2 separate regions of the Homo sapiens genome follow, and region 2 is linked to region 1. The links are contacts of gene promoters, found by promoter capture Hi-C in blood cells and fetal thymus (Javierre and others, 2016). All regions are on one chromosome and are shown on one strand. Each heading gives the region's core, a stretch centred on a gene start or on the middle of the fragment in contact. The rest is flanking DNA. Distances are from core to core; before and after follow the strand shown. Region 1 holds the start of CCM2 (CCM2 scaffold protein). Region 2 holds the start of MRPS24 (mitochondrial ribosomal protein S24).

Region 1 (7,243 bases), core at 896-3,395:
AGCCCAGGAGGTTGAAGCTTCAGTGAGCCATGACTGCATCACTGCACTCTAACCTGAAGGACAGAGTGAGACTTTATCTCTAAAAATACAAAAGAAACAAAAAATTATTTGTCAATTAAAAAAAAACTGGCAGCTTTCCTAGTTTTCGGTCCTGCTTCCAGCTTAGGAGCAACCAGAGAAAGACAAATATGTGCCCCTAACCAATCACTTGGGATGCCCTGCCCCTTGCTTCCCCAGGCCAACAGCCTCAAATGAGGACATCCCTGGAGGCTTCCCTTTTTTCACTATAAAGCTTACCCACTCCTCTGCCTGACATTGAGTCTCATCCAAATACAAATGATGGTGGCTGACTCCCTTGTTATAGCAAGCTAACAGCCTTTTTGCTTTTCTCATTTTATTGTCTTTATTCCCAGTTATCACCATCTGATCATTAGCCAGTGGACTTTTGCTTGAAGCATGAACCTGTGTATGCAAAGACAGGGCAAAGGTATTCTGATGGATAAGAACAGCCTGAGGAAGTCAGCACATCCAGAGTTAGGCTAAGAGAAGTTTTAGTAGTGTTGTTTACTGTATTATGGAGTGATAAATATGCATTTGTGGAAGACGGTGGAAGACTTTAAATATCAGGCCTTTGTTCTGTGAATGGTGGGAAAATAATGACAACCAGATGCGCTACATCATTTGCGTGTGTAAATGTGGCAAGCTGGATTATTGCAGAAGGCAGATTGAAAGGGTGTTTCCACTATCTCTGCTTTATCTTGCAGAGAATGGAATACTTATGCCTTTGGAGAGGTCTAGAGACCAAGTATTTCTTTTGAATATCAGTATAACATAGGCCCAGTCAGGAGACAGAAACACAGTAAAGAAAAGTTTAATATAAAGAATTATTAGGCCGGGCGCGGTGGCTCACGCCTGTAATCCCAGCACTTTGGGAGGCCGAGGTGGGCGGATCACCAGGTCAGGAGATCCAGACCATGGTGAAACCCCGTCTCTACTAAAAATACAAAAATTAGCCAGGTGTGGTGGCTGGCGCCTGTAGTCCCAGCTACTCGGGAGGCTGAGGCAGGAGAACGGCGTGAACCCGCGAGGCAGAGCTTGCAGTGAGCCGAGATCCACGCCACTGGCACTCCAGCCTGGGCGACAGAGCAAGGCTCCGTCTCAAAAAAAAAAAAAAACCACCAAAAAAACACAGTTTACATTCTAGCTGTGCTACAAAGTTCTTACCGGCAGATTGGTTTAGTGGCAAAATAGCAGACCTGCTGGTGACTCCAATTTGTAGTGTGCTTTTGGGCGAATCACCTCATTCCCCGGACCTCATCTGGAAAATGTGGAAATTATACCGGATGACTGGTAAGGTTCTACGATTTTATTCTGATAGGGTCTGCACATCCTTGTGGTTGCACTTCTATTTTCCAAATGTGTTTGTCTAAGGCAGGCAGACTTTATAACAGAGAAGTACTAGAAAACGGATTCCCTGTGGCTCAGGGAATAAAGTGGGACACAAGAAAAAAGAAAACCGCACCGCACCCAGACTCTCGGCGGGACGCCCCGCCCCTCAACAGTGGCCGCCTCCTCGCGCCCCTCCTTCGCCATCTGCCGGCCGCGTCCCCTCCCGCCGGCCCCCGTCCCCCGTCCCCCGCCCCCCGTCCCCTTTTCAGAGACCTGAGCTCCGCCTCCCTGGACGCGAGGCAGGCTGGGAAGTCGGCCGCCGTAAAGATGGCGGCAAATTGAAAAAGTTGGAGCTGCTCCCGCGCGCGCTCCCGCGCGCGCTGAGTGGGCGGAGCGAACAGGGGGCTGGACAGGTGCGTTCTCGCGGCCGTGCAGAAGCGAAGTAGGGGTAGGAGCGTTTCCGGCTCTCCTGAAGGACGCGGGGCGGGGTGGGGGTGGTGCAAGGCAGGCGCGTTCTCGGCCGTCCTGAAGGGGCAGGATCTTCAGCCTGTGGGCGGTGCTCTCGCCGTGAGCGGGGCCAACGGGCCGTGTTCTCCCTGAAGGGGCGGGGTCTGATCGCTGCGGGTCGGATTCCCTTGGGCCTGAAAGTGAGGATGAGCGACAACCGTGGGCGGGGCCTGCGCTGGGGAAGGTGGGGCCTGGGCGGGGCGGAGGGGGCTCGGGCCCGGAAGTGCGGGTGTGGGGCGCGGCCGGGGCGGAGACTTCGGGCCCGGCTGGCGGGCGGCGCCGGGAGCGCGGGGGCGGCGGGCCCGGGTCGAGCATGTAGCGGCTGCTGGCGGCGGGGCTCCCGGGGCGGGCCGGGCGGGCCGCGGGAGCCGCACGCGGCGATATGGAAGAGGAGGGCAAGAAGGGCAAGAAGGTGAGCGTGCGCGGGGGCGTCCTACTGCTGTGGTCGGCGGGCGGCTGGGTTGAGGGGCCAGGGTGGGGTGGGCGGGTGTTCCTTGGGGCCCGGGGGGGGGGGCAGTGGGCCAGCTGGCGGGGCGGGGCGGGGCAGGGCGAGACCCCGGACAATGGTCAGGTGGGCTTTCGCGGCCGGGCGGGCAGGAAGCGCCGCGCCTTTCCTCTGGCCCGGGCAGCGGCTCGCCCCGACCTCGGCCCCAGACGGCCTTCCCTGCGCGTCGGGACCTGGGGCTGCAGAGGAAGTGGGCCCGGCGAGGGGCCAGAAAGCTGTCCAGGGCTGGAACTGGAGCTAGTGGGCTGTGTGGTTAACGTGGAGACGTTTGCTGCTCACTGGACTTCGTTTTTGGATATCCAGTAAAAGCAAGGGTGGCCTTCACCTTATGGCCAGCTCACTCGTCCACTATCACTCAGACCTAAAACCATTGATTGATTTTAGTGACGCTAGCTACATTTGGCAGTGGGATTTAGGACATAGTTCATAGTCAAACCCCAGTTTATGTAGTTTTACAAAATGTGGCTTTAATTACAGTAAAGGGTTATAGTAGTCGATAAAGAAACATTTTAAGACTGGAAAAACGATGTGGATTGAACTACCATTAAAGTGGAAAATGGATTTTAATAAAATGTATCTTTTTCAAATAAATGCTTTATAATCTTCACGTCTTGGCTATCATTTTCTTTTTGATGTGTGTGTGCGCACTTTTATCCACAAGTTTAAAGCAGACCTCGATAATTCCTAACTATGATTTTACTACCCTGAACTCTGCAGGGAAGTGTCCTTTAATTGACAGCTACTCACCACCTTGTTTGACAGAGTGCCCCATTTAAAAGTCCTGTTTGAAATAGAATGTAGCCAGGTGGCCTTCAGGGAGTCCTGTGGTGCTGGTTCTCTACTTTCTCAACTCATTGTTTCATGTTAGCACCATGCATGTCTAATTTAGGTGCAGTATAATTTGCGGTTATCTACAAAGATGTTTTAAGTCTGGAAAATAGCTCAAGATAGTGATTCAGCCTGCAGGTGTTAGATTAGAGATGCGTGCTGCGCACAGAAGAGGGAGGAGCCAAGCAGTGTAAAAGGAGTTAGCTGGAAAGGAGAGGTGCTAACCCGGTGGCTGCTTAGTAGGGACCATCAGGCCCGAGTGTGGATGATGCTGAGCTTTGCGGAAAGTGAGCCATGTGCTCTGTGGAATGCCGGGATCCAAGAGCGCGCTAAGGACTGATGACCTCATTGTGCACCGCTTACAGGAGTACCTGGCCCATCTACCTGTGTGTGATAGGCAAGGATGGAATTGAGTGATTTTTTTTTCTAGAGCTGTCTATCAGCTTTGGTAGAAACATGAAACACCCAGCAAATAGGGAGAGAGAGAGAGAAGCAGTAAGACTGTTTTTGGGGTACAAGTGAAAAAACAGTAAAATTATCAAGAATTTTCCAGTTGGGTAATGAAAAAATTTAGGCATAAACAGGTTAATTATTAATTTCATTTTCTCACTAGAGGAGATAATCAGTTGTTATGTAGTTGCTTAAGCCAGGGGTTTTGTGTTTTTTCTGTATTCTGCCACTTGTCTTAGCTTGTTTCCTGTAGACAAGCCAGACAAGGAGCTTTGGGGCATGGATTCTTCTCCAGGTCATGACTTAACACTACCTCGTGTACTCTGCCAGTTGCAAGCTGGCAGAACCTTCCTGCTCAGCTACCACATTCAATGTGAGATCACCTCCAGTTTAATAACTTCGGTGGTTAAATCATTCTCATTAAGGTAAATTGCATTGCTCTAAACTTATACACAAATTCAGACATAAGTAGCAGAAGTGCTGACAATAGTTTTATGAAGGTACAGTTTGGACGCTTAAATTCTTCTAAGTTAGCTTCTTCAAAAAATGCAGAATTAGGCTGGGTATGGTAGCTACGCCTGTAATCCAGCACTTTGGGAGGCCAAGGCTCGATCACTTTAGCTCAGGAGTTCGAGACCAGCCTGGGCAACATGGCAAAACCCCATCTATACAAAAAATACAGAAATTAGCCAGGCGCGGCAGCGCTCGCCTATAGTCTCAGCTACTTGGGAGGCTGAGGCAGGAGGATCACCTGAGCTCAGGTGGGCCTTTTTTTTTTTTTTCTTTTTAATCTCAGACACTTGTCTTGGTGTCTGCCAAGCAGTGATTCAGGCTTTTTTTTACCTCGGCCCATTTTCCTCAGGACACAGGAATCAGTGAGTTGGCAGAGAACCTATGGACCAAAGTGAGTCTCACGGAAACTTGGCCCCAGTGTATCACTGCCCTTTCTCAAGTCACCTCAGCACATGTGGTGATGATGACTGTACACCTGGGTTTCCTCAAGTGGGCCATGGTTCGTTTAACAAATGTCTGTTGAGCCCCTCTTGTGTCCCATGAAACTCACTGGGTGATGGGGATACAGGAAGAGCTTGTGGCCCCCAGGAGCTGATGGGGAGATGGATCACTCATGGGTCCATCTGAAGGAATGAGTGCATTGACAGAAAAGTCCTCTGGCCACTAAAGGTGTGGGGCCTGGGGAGTAGAAGTGACCACTTGGGGCTGCTCTTCTGTCCTGATGTCTACAGAGTGTCTACTTTTTAGCCTACAAGTTCTGTTTTGGGGTTTGGAGAATAAGGCTCCTACCTACGGTATGGACTCATGTTCTGTGCATTGTGGCACTATGTAATTCCTTTTTTTTTGAGATAGAGTTTCGCTCTTGTTGCCCAGGCTGGAGTGCAATGGCACGATCTCAGCTCACTGCAACCTCCGCCTCCCGGGTTCAGGTGATTCTCTTGCCTCAGCCTCCCGAGTAGCTGGGATTACAGGCGTGTGCCATCATGCCCAGCTAATTTTTGTATTTTTAGTAGAGACGGGGTTTCTCCATGTTGGTCAGGCTAGTCTCAAACTCCGGATCTCAGGTGATCCACCCACCTTGGCCTCCCAAGGTGCTGGGTGGCTGAGCCACCGCACCTGACAGTAATTCCTTTTTATTAGAAACTTGGATGCACTTAAGTTGGGTTGTGTGGATTTTTATACTCAGATCACAGCCCAAAAAAGCTGTCTTGTCAGGGTTGGGTGTAGGTAATCCTAACACTTTGGGAGGCCGAAGCAGGCGGATCACTTGACACCAGGAGTTTGAGACCAGCCTGGCCAGCATGGTGAAACCCCGTCTCTACTAAAAATACAAAATTAGCTGGGCGTGGTGGCATGTGCCTATAATCCCAGTTAGGAGGCTGAGGCAGGAGAATCTCTTGAACCCGGGAGGTGGAGGTTGCAGTGAGCTGAGATCATGCCACTGTACTCCAGCCTGGGCAACAGGGCAAGACTCCATCTCCAAAAAAAAAAAAAAACCATCTTGTGGCCTTAACCTTGTGGGTCTCAGCTTCTCTGCTGCCTCTGGTCTTCGGTTGCCCCACCAGGTGGCTATGATTTCACACTGATCAAAGTTAAATATTTTTACATTCATCTAGTTTATTTGCATTGTTTAAGGTAGAAAAAGGTTATAGGTTGAGTGTAGTGGCTACGCCTGTAATCCCAGCACTTTGGGAGACTGAGGTGGGAGGATCACTTGAGCCTAGGAGTTTGAGATCAGCCTGGACAATGTAGTGAGACCCTATCTCTACAAAAAATAAGAAAATTAGCTGAGCATGGTGGTGCATGCCTGTAGTTCCAGCTACTTGGGATGCTGAGAAGGGAAGATCGCTTGAGCCCTGGAGGTCGAGGCTGCAGTGAGTGTGATTGTGCCACCACCTGAGTGACAGCAAGACCCTGTCTCAAGAAGAAAAAGAGAAAAAAAAGGTTATAAAGTTCCCTAGAAATGTAGGACTAGATATTAAATAATAAATAAGGAATTATTAATTTTGTTGGGTATGATAATTAAGTTCTGATCTGATAGGCATGTATTCTGAGATATTTGTAGGTGAAATAATATGATTTCTGGGATTTGCTTTACTCAAAATAGAAGAAACAAAGGGGATAGCTGAATGCTTTGGTAATGGTTATATATTGTTCTGTCTACTTTTATGTATTTTTGAGAATTTCCATAATAAAAAGTGGAGGGGAAAAGATCCTCTAGGTTACAGGCCCTGAACTATCAGCTGCTGTAGTCACTGCTGGACCAGTGTCTGTGAGGAACTGAAAGCTTGGATTGGACCAGTACCTTTTAAAATTTGGTCACTGCAGGCACCAGGAAGCCATACCTTCTCCATGCTGACCTGATGCAGACATAAATGTGTGTGTCTGTATAACCGAAGTGAAAGTTTAAAGGAACCACACTTAAACGCTCTGATTTTTTAATTCTATTTTTTTTTCTTTCTATTACAACTGGTGGTTGGCCAGGTGCGGTGGCTCACACTGGTAATCCCAGCACTTTGGGAGGCTGAGGTGGGTGGATCACCTGTCAGGAGTCTGAGACCAGCCATGGTGAAACCCCATCTCTACTAAAAATACAAAAATTAGCTGAGCGTGGTGGTGGGGCCTGTAATCCTAGCTACTTGTGAGGCTGAGGCAGGAGAATTGCTTGAACTCGGGAGATGGAGGTTGCAGTGAGCTGAGAATGTGCCATTGCGCTCCAGCCTGGGCGACAAGAGTAAGACTCCGTCTCAAAAAAAAAAAAAAGGCTCATGGTCATGACCCACTAAACCGATTCTATAACTGTCACAAGCCATACTTGGGTTCAGAAGGTGAATTGGGGCTGCTATATTTTGTTTTATTTTTCCTCTTGGGTAGCTATTGCAGTGATTCTTGGATGGCAACTTGGTAACTCAGGGTCAGGAGGCTGGAGAACCAGGCAGGAGGTGCTCAGCAGAGAACCTAAGGCAGCCAGTAGGTGAGGCCAGAATGATCGGCAACATAAGGCTGGTTACTTTTCTGTCTTGAAGAGTTACCATTTACATAGTATGTATT
Region 2 (7,308 bases), core at 4,676-7,175, 1.1 Mb before region 1:
GCAAGGGTCCACAGACCCCTGTTGGAACTTTTTGCAGGGGTTCCCCAGGCAGAAGACTGACAGATTTTGTGCAGCATAAATCTACCACGGCACTACCAGCTGTGGCGGGGGACAGACATTGTACATGGGTGAAGGGATGGCCTGAGCCGGAAATGCCCCGGTTTGCAATGGGTCTCGGGATGGGCCCCTCATGGCATTTCCCGAAATCACATTTCCATCCTTCTCAAATTTAGAATGACGCTGATTGGCCCAATGCTTCCCTTTTTTACACTTCGGGCATAGACCTGGTTCATACTGATTGATAGCTTGTTTAAACTCTTTGAGTAATTTAAAAGGAAAAGACTCAAACATAGGTGTAATATTTCCCTGTTGATTAGGTGGGTGTATTCTAACAGGGAACTTCCAAGCATCTATATCACCCTCTTGTCTAGCTTGCTGAATTCCTGCCTGAATAGAACTGAGAGCGGTCGCTCGAGGTGCTGTTTGAACAGTCACTGGGGCAACTACTTTTCACCCAGTGTCCTCTGGAAAAGAAAGATCTGGAGGGTCAGGCCACTCTTTTTCTTCAAAATTATGAGGGGGTGGAGAAGGGTAGGGATGAACCTCTTCCTCCTTTGCCACTTTAACTTTAGCTGGCAAACAAACCTGCTCTGTCACCTCTTCTGTTACTTCATTGTACTCTACTTCCTCTTCATCATCAGTGTGAAAAGGTTCCAAGGTGGAATGAACCAGAGCCCACACCTGTCCCATTGTTACCCTGATGCTTCTGAGCTCCCCTTCTTACTCATCACAGGGATTGCTTAAGAGTATTCGAGTGTCCTCCAGCTTAGTTCCACGTTCTCCAACCGTCGCTCCAGCGACCCTCCAACACGGGTTTCGAGCCCCACACATGGGCACCACTTGCTGAGACCAGCTCGGTCATGGAGACCCTAACTCAGCGGCATTAGAGGAATTAAAGACACACACACAGAAATATAGAGTGTGGAGTGGGAAATCAGGGGACTGGCAGCCTTCAGAGCTGATAGCCAGGAACAGAGTTTTACCCACAATAAATAAAAAGTATTTATTGACAGCAAGCCAGTGATAAGCATTGTTTCTATAGATTATAGATTAAATAAAATGGGAAACAAAGGGATGGGCTCTGGCTGGTTATCTCCAGCAGGAACATGTCCCTAAGGCACAGATCGCTCATGCTATTATTTGTGGCTTAGGAATGCCTTAAGCGGTTTTCCGCCCTGCGTGGGCCAGGTGTTCCTCGTCCTCATTCCAGTAAACCTACAACCTTCAGTGTGGGTGTCATAGCCATCATGAGCATGTCACGGTGCTGCAGAGATTTTGTTTATGGCCAGTTTGGGGGCCAGTTTATGGCCAGATTTGGGGGCCTATTCCCAACAGAATATGGTTTGGCTGTGTCCCCACCCAAATCTCATCTTGAATTGTAGCTCCCATAATTCCCACGTTGTGGGAGGGACCCAGTGGGAGATAACTGAATCATGGGGGCAGTTTCCCCCATACTGTTCTCGTGGTAGTGAGTAAGTCACATGAGAGCTGATGGTTTTATAAGGGGAAAACTCTTTGGCTTGGTTATTATTCTCTCTTGCCTGCTGCTATGTAAGACATGCCTTTTGCCTTCCACCATGATTATGAGGCCTCCCCAGCCATGTGGAACTCTAAGTCCATTAAACCTCAGTCTCAGGTATGTCTTTATCAGCAGCGTGAAAATGGACTAACACGGTCATGGTAACAGTCAGGGTAGTGTTAGTATGTTCTGAGTCAGGGTCAGGTTCAGAGTGAAGTTCAAAGTGACCATCAGAGTCAAGGTCAGAGTCAGACTCAGAGTGAGACACATGACCAGGAAGGGTCTAGGTGAGAGTGAGGGTGAAGGTCAGCCTGTGTGTCAAGGTCAGGGTAAAGGTCAGCAACAGGGTCACGGTTAGAGTCAGGGCCATTATCAAGTTCAGGGTAAGGGTGTGTTGGGCTGAGGCTCAGGGTCAGGTTAAAGATATCAGAGACATGATCAAGATGAGAGTCAAGGTCAGGATCAGCAACCTCTGCCCTACTTCCTAGCACCAGGTGCTGGCTGTTGTGAATGCAACTTTCTGAAATGCTCTTCCTCCATTTATCTGCATGTCTTCCTCCTTCACGTGCTTGGACCATTTAATGCTGCCTCACGCTCCCTGCCCTTTCACTAGGATGTGAGTGTCACAAAGACAGTGATCTTGGAATGAAATGTTTTGCTCACTAATGGGTCCCAGGCAGTTAGAAGAGTGCTTGGGCCGGAGGAGGCACTCGATAAGAGTTTAGTATCGATGAGTGTGCATAAAAGTATTCCTTGAAAAAAGTACATCTGGGAATAAAATATAAAAGCTGTTCACAGTAGTTCTCTCTGGAGTGGAATTATAAGAAAGCTTCATGGTCAATTTGATATATGTTCATATTGTTTTTTTTTTTTTGAGATGGAGTCTTGCTCTGTCACCCAGGCTGGAGTGCAGTGGCGCGATCTCAGCTCACTGCAAGCTCCGCCTCTCGAGTTCGCACCATTCTCCTGCCTCAGCCTCCCGAATAGCTGGGACTACAGACGCCCGCCACCATGCCCAGCTAATTTTTTGTATTTTTAATAGAGACGGGGTTTCACCTTGTTAGCCAGGATGGTCTCAATCTCCTAACCTCGTGATCTGCCCATCTCGGCCTCCCAAAGTGCTGGGATTACAGGCGTGAGCCACCGTGCCCAGCCTGTTTTGATTCTTAAAAACTAACACTGAATGGGTCTTTCCATCTTGAGAAAAAACAAAGAACTTTTAGGCAAAGTGCTTGACAGAGTGATTGATTGGCACAGGTACTCACCAAACTGTAGCTATGAATTAAACTTCAAACAACTGGCGTCAGCCTTCCTGCAAACCCTGGAGCATCGTCAAAGAAACGCTACTCTAGTTCCCTCATCCAAGAGTAAAAACAGAGAGGCAAGACAAGATAGAAGGTCTTTATTCAATAGCAGATGAGAGACTATGCCTCAGTCCTCTGAGGGGATGCATTTCCCCCACATACCATTCCTTTCCCACGTTTCCATTCTCTGCAGGCTACAGCTTGATGGAAAAAAGGGGATTGTTCTAGAGGTACTTATACACAACCTTTGAGGGCACAGTTTGGAGGTGGAGTCGCACAGGACATTTGTAAAAGTAGGACAGCAAAGTTTCACTGTAGCCCACGAGGAAGTAGTACTTGTGTGGAGACAACTGCCTCAGGACCACGGCACAGATCTCCAACTGGTTACCCCGGCGCTTTAAAACCAGCTGGTCAGCCAGGCAGCCTGGGAAGGTACCCCACATGAACTTGCGAAGGAAAACATCCTCCACCGTTCGCTCTGCGGCATGGTCCTCTCCATCCAGGTTACCTGAAGAGGGAAGGGCATAATAGAAGAATCAGCCTCATTGCCCCAGGGCCCTGCCATAACTCCAGAGTCAACATCCAAAAGCGCTGAGCACAATCCCACCCTTCACCCCCAGCCTCTTCTCTTTTCTTCTGCTAATGGAATAAGAAAAATAACACTTTAAAGTTCAAAGTATGTTATGTCATTAATTCCCAAGCCAATTCAGTTTAGTAGGTATTATCATTATCCTTATTTTACAAAAAGGAAGATGGAGGCCTGAGTCAGGGTACAAAACTCAAGATGATGCCACCACATCTAGCCCCTTTCCTGCTTTCTTGGCTGCCTTATAAAAACACTGGTCATCCCATGGGCCAGAAAGATGAGGCTACCAGCTATTTTTGAGATTAGGGACATGAGCTAGGCCCAGGGCTTCCACCAGTGGGTTCCTCAGTGTGAACTGTGGATCCCCTGCAGCCCTTACAATGTCCACTAAGAGTCTGCACACCTACATCCAAACCTCAGACCAGAACCTGAAAGAGTGGGAGACAAGCATCTCTCTCTCTTTTTTTTTTTTTTTTTTTTTTTTTTTGAGATGGAGTCTCACTCTGTCGTCCAGGCTGGAGTGCAGTGGCGTGATCTCGGCTCACTGCAACCTCCGCCTCTTGGGTTCAAACAATTCTCTGCCTCAGCCTCCTGAATAGCTGGGATTGCAGGCGCCCGCCACTACGCCCAGCTAATTTTTTTGTATTTTTAGTAGAGATGGGGTTTCACCATCTTGGCCAGGTTGGTATTGAACTCCTGACCTCAGGATCCACCCTCCTCGGCCTCCCAAAGTGCTGGGATTACAGGCGTGAGCCACCGTGCCAGGCAAGCATCTGTATTTTAAGTAAGTTCTCTAGATGCATCTCAAACATCCAAGAACCCCTGTACTAAACAAAGCACAGTTGGTTATCAATTGTTCACAATAGTTATATTCTATAAAGTCACTGCCAACACTGACTTAGTGAATACTGAACCATTGCTCCTAGGTGAAATACAGGGTTAGATTCCTTTCAGCCTCTGGGCACCGTATTTTTGTTAACAAATCAATACATAACCTAGTTTCCTTTGTGTTTCTGTTTAAAGACACCTTGTTTAATATATATGGTAGATTCACTAACATTGAATTCAGGGCCAAGAGCAACTCATGACTGAAGAAAGATTCTCTAATACATGTATGTTCTCCCTAAGGCACGTCACAGCCTTCTCCCGCTTAGGAACACTAGATAGCACTTCAGCATTGCAAGGCCATTTTAAACAGCAAAATCACTAACAAAAAGCACGAAAATGCAAATTAAAAAAAAAAGATTCTAGACCATAAAAAGGACACCTTTTACAGTACGAGAGCTGAAACTAGGCAGAGCCTTGTCGACCTCAGCTCGGGACATGCACCTGGGGTGGCAGCTCCACCCACATCTCAGAGTGACCTTGAGAGTGCCCAGAGTGTTGATTTGGGGCTTACAAATAAATTTTAGTCAGTAGAAGAATCTGAAAATATGGAATTCATGAATAACGAGGGTTGTCTGTATATATTTACAGAGAAAAATTTGTGCTTTAGTGGAAAACTGCATTCCTTAGAGCACACTGTTCAGGGTTATCAGATTCTGCAACGGTTTCACTCCTTTCCTTGACTCTGAGCTATTTTACAGCTCTGTAAATTACAGATAACTGACAGGAATGCAAAATAATTCTTGTCTGTAGACATGCAAATAATTTCTGTTCAGTGGAGGATCAATTGAGTCCCTGCCTGCCATGGAAAAAGTCAGTTTTGCATCCATCTTCAAATTTGTTTCAACATCCTGATCTATATATATCTCTGCTTTTTTATGTCTCCCTTGAGTTGGTTTCATAGATTTCTGACCCTAGCATTATTTCCTGAGTTAAAGAAAACCTGTGACACGTGTTCATTTTGTTTACATGACAGTCGGATTGAGTGCTCCTTTTGGAGGCCTGGGGTCCGCTCACCTGTGTGCAGCGACAGCCAGCCTTTACGGTGGGCGATGTAGTGCGGCGCGTGTGCCTCCTCGTAGGTCACCGGCTTGTCCCCCTTGCTTACGCGTACTCGGGCCGCCCGGTTCTAGGAGCAAAAGGGGCCGTGACTCCACGAGATCCCCGATCCAGACCCCTACTTCGCGCCATGTCCCCCCAGTCAGCTGGCACTGTTCCCCGGCCCCAATCCCCTGATCCCTAAGCCCCGACCCTAGCCCCGCCTCGGACCCCAGCGACACGCCCCCTTCAGCCCGCACGGCTTCCCCGGCCCCCGGCCCCCCGGCCCCCAGGCCCCCAGGCCCCTGCCCCGGCGGTGCTCACCTTGGCGCAGACCGGGGAGGTGTGCAGGGCGCGCCAAGCGCAAGGCAGCTCTCGGCTCCAGGACAGCACCTGTGGAGGGAGGGCGCGTGAGGCGGAAACTAGGGACCCCACCTCCGACTCGCAGGGACCTGCCGAGTCGCCCCACTCACCCGTGGCCCCAGCAACCCGCTGCACACGGAGGCCGCCATCTTGGGCCAAGCGGAGCGCGGGACGTACCACAGCGCGCTGAGGGGTGGGGACGACCGCGGACGAGACCAAGTCGGAGCTCGTACTCTGTACTCTGGCGGGGGCGGGGCAGGGCCTCTGCGGGGCGGGGCCGCGGTATGCTGCTAGCTGTTACTCCCGCCTTCCCCGCAGCCCTGTGAATGCTCAGCCTTGTGAATGCTCATCCCGCCGCTGTTCGCTCTCCCGCGGTTGCTGCTTGCATAGGGTTTCAGATCCGGAAATTTGAGGATGCGAAACGTGAGATTTTCTCTTCGACAACCTCACGCTAGTACGGGTGATGGGTGTGCGGCCCACCGGAGCCCGCCCTGCCCAACCTGCACCCTCGGGGCTCGAAGAGGAGCCAAGCGTTTCCCCAGGTCCTAGTTATGCCTCCAAATAATATTCGTAGAAAAACAAAACAGAAAAACCCTCCAGACTTTTATCCACAAATAAAGAAGAAACATATTTTGGTTAAAACGTCACCCAATTCTTCAAGGATGACTTACGCAGTTATGCAAGAATGGGTTTGCCACATGTGACCACAGTGGTGACTGGCCCCTGAGGAAGGAAAATTTTAAGTACGGGGAAGGGGCCGGAGGGCAAGGAGATTCGTGAGAATATCGCAGGGCCTGTAATGCTGAAACCAGTGCGTCGCCACTATTATTGGTATCCAGTAATTATTAATGTCAAACGGAAAAATAGCAACGCGGGATATTTTATTTTAGAAGTCACCACGGTCATGGAAAAAACACGGGCTCTGGAGTCAGACCCATGTATAACAATCTTTGTACAGTTAAGACTCAGTTCTATTATCTATAAAATGGGCCTTAATAATAGTACTACCTTATAGAGCTATTAGGATCAAGAGAATATTTAATCAATGATGGGTTGTGTTTGGTTGAGTGATGTGAAATTGCCAATGTTTTGGCCGTTCTGGGTCTACATCATTCCCCTTAATGGTACAGTACTTGCATACTGCTGCGGTTTCCTGTCAGGGGGAGGACTGGATTATGATCCATGGGAAGGGGAAATGGAAGAACGGTGGAAATGAGTTGCCCATGACCACACTGAGAAGAGGGAAAGAGGGACCAAGACACAAGTCTCTTGACTTCAGTCCAGCCCATTTCCCATGACCAAGATTCCTCTGATTACATGAAGGTGGGTTCTCAAAAAACCCGTAATAAAAGGACAAGGTCTTCCATGTCCACTTCACCAGAAATGTTTTATTCTTACTTTTTAGGAACTGCGGCCCCCAACTGTTATGCATATTGAATAAAGGGACAGAACAGGGATGAGGTGCCCTCCAATGCATACTTTGCAAATGTAAGAACTTTCAACATTTCCTAAGAAATCCTTTTCAACTGACAATTATTTTTTAAAGTTTTCAT

The links. The method cuts DNA at HindIII sites, captures the fragments that hold promoters and counts their contacts. A CHiCAGO score of 5 or more calls a contact.
Region 2: the fragment with the promoter of MRPS24 here is called in contact with the fragment with the promoter of CCM2 in region 1 in 1 of 17 cell types (neutrophils); the score reaches 6.7 in neutrophils.

What each region holds. Positions count from the first base shown.
Region 1 is chr7:44,998,056-45,005,298 of GRCh38, forward strand. CCM2 (CCM2 scaffold protein) reads left to right here and starts at 2,146. Exons shown (of 10, transcript NM_031443.4): 1 at 2,146-2,308. The coding sequence starts at 2,279. LOC102723334 (a long non-coding RNA gene) reads right to left here and starts at 1,953. Exons shown (of 4, transcript XR_428139.4): 1 at 1,663-1,953; 2 at 1,225-1,318. RefSeq lists silencers at 1,413-1,462, 2,093-2,622. The HindIII fragment of the contact is 6,187 bases long and covers 291-6,477 here.
Region 2 is chr7:43,863,592-43,870,899 of GRCh38, forward strand. MRPS24 (mitochondrial ribosomal protein S24) reads right to left here and starts at 5,926. Exons shown (of 4, transcript NM_032014.3): 1 at 5,866-5,926; 2 at 5,717-5,785; 3 at 5,372-5,483; 4 at 2,967-3,391. The coding sequence starts at 5,904. The coding sequence ends at 3,108. URGCP-MRPS24 (URGCP-MRPS24 readthrough) reads right to left here. Exons shown (of 7, transcript NM_001204871.2): 5 at 5,717-5,785; 6 at 5,372-5,483; 7 at 2,967-3,391. The coding sequence ends at 5,395. LOC124901620 (a long non-coding RNA gene) reads left to right here and starts at 6,055. Exons shown (of 2, transcript XR_007060296.1): 1 at 6,055-7,243. RefSeq lists silencers at 5,638-5,697, 5,998-6,057 and an enhancer at 6,288-6,407. The HindIII fragment of the contact is 8,402 bases long and covers 2,407-7,308 here.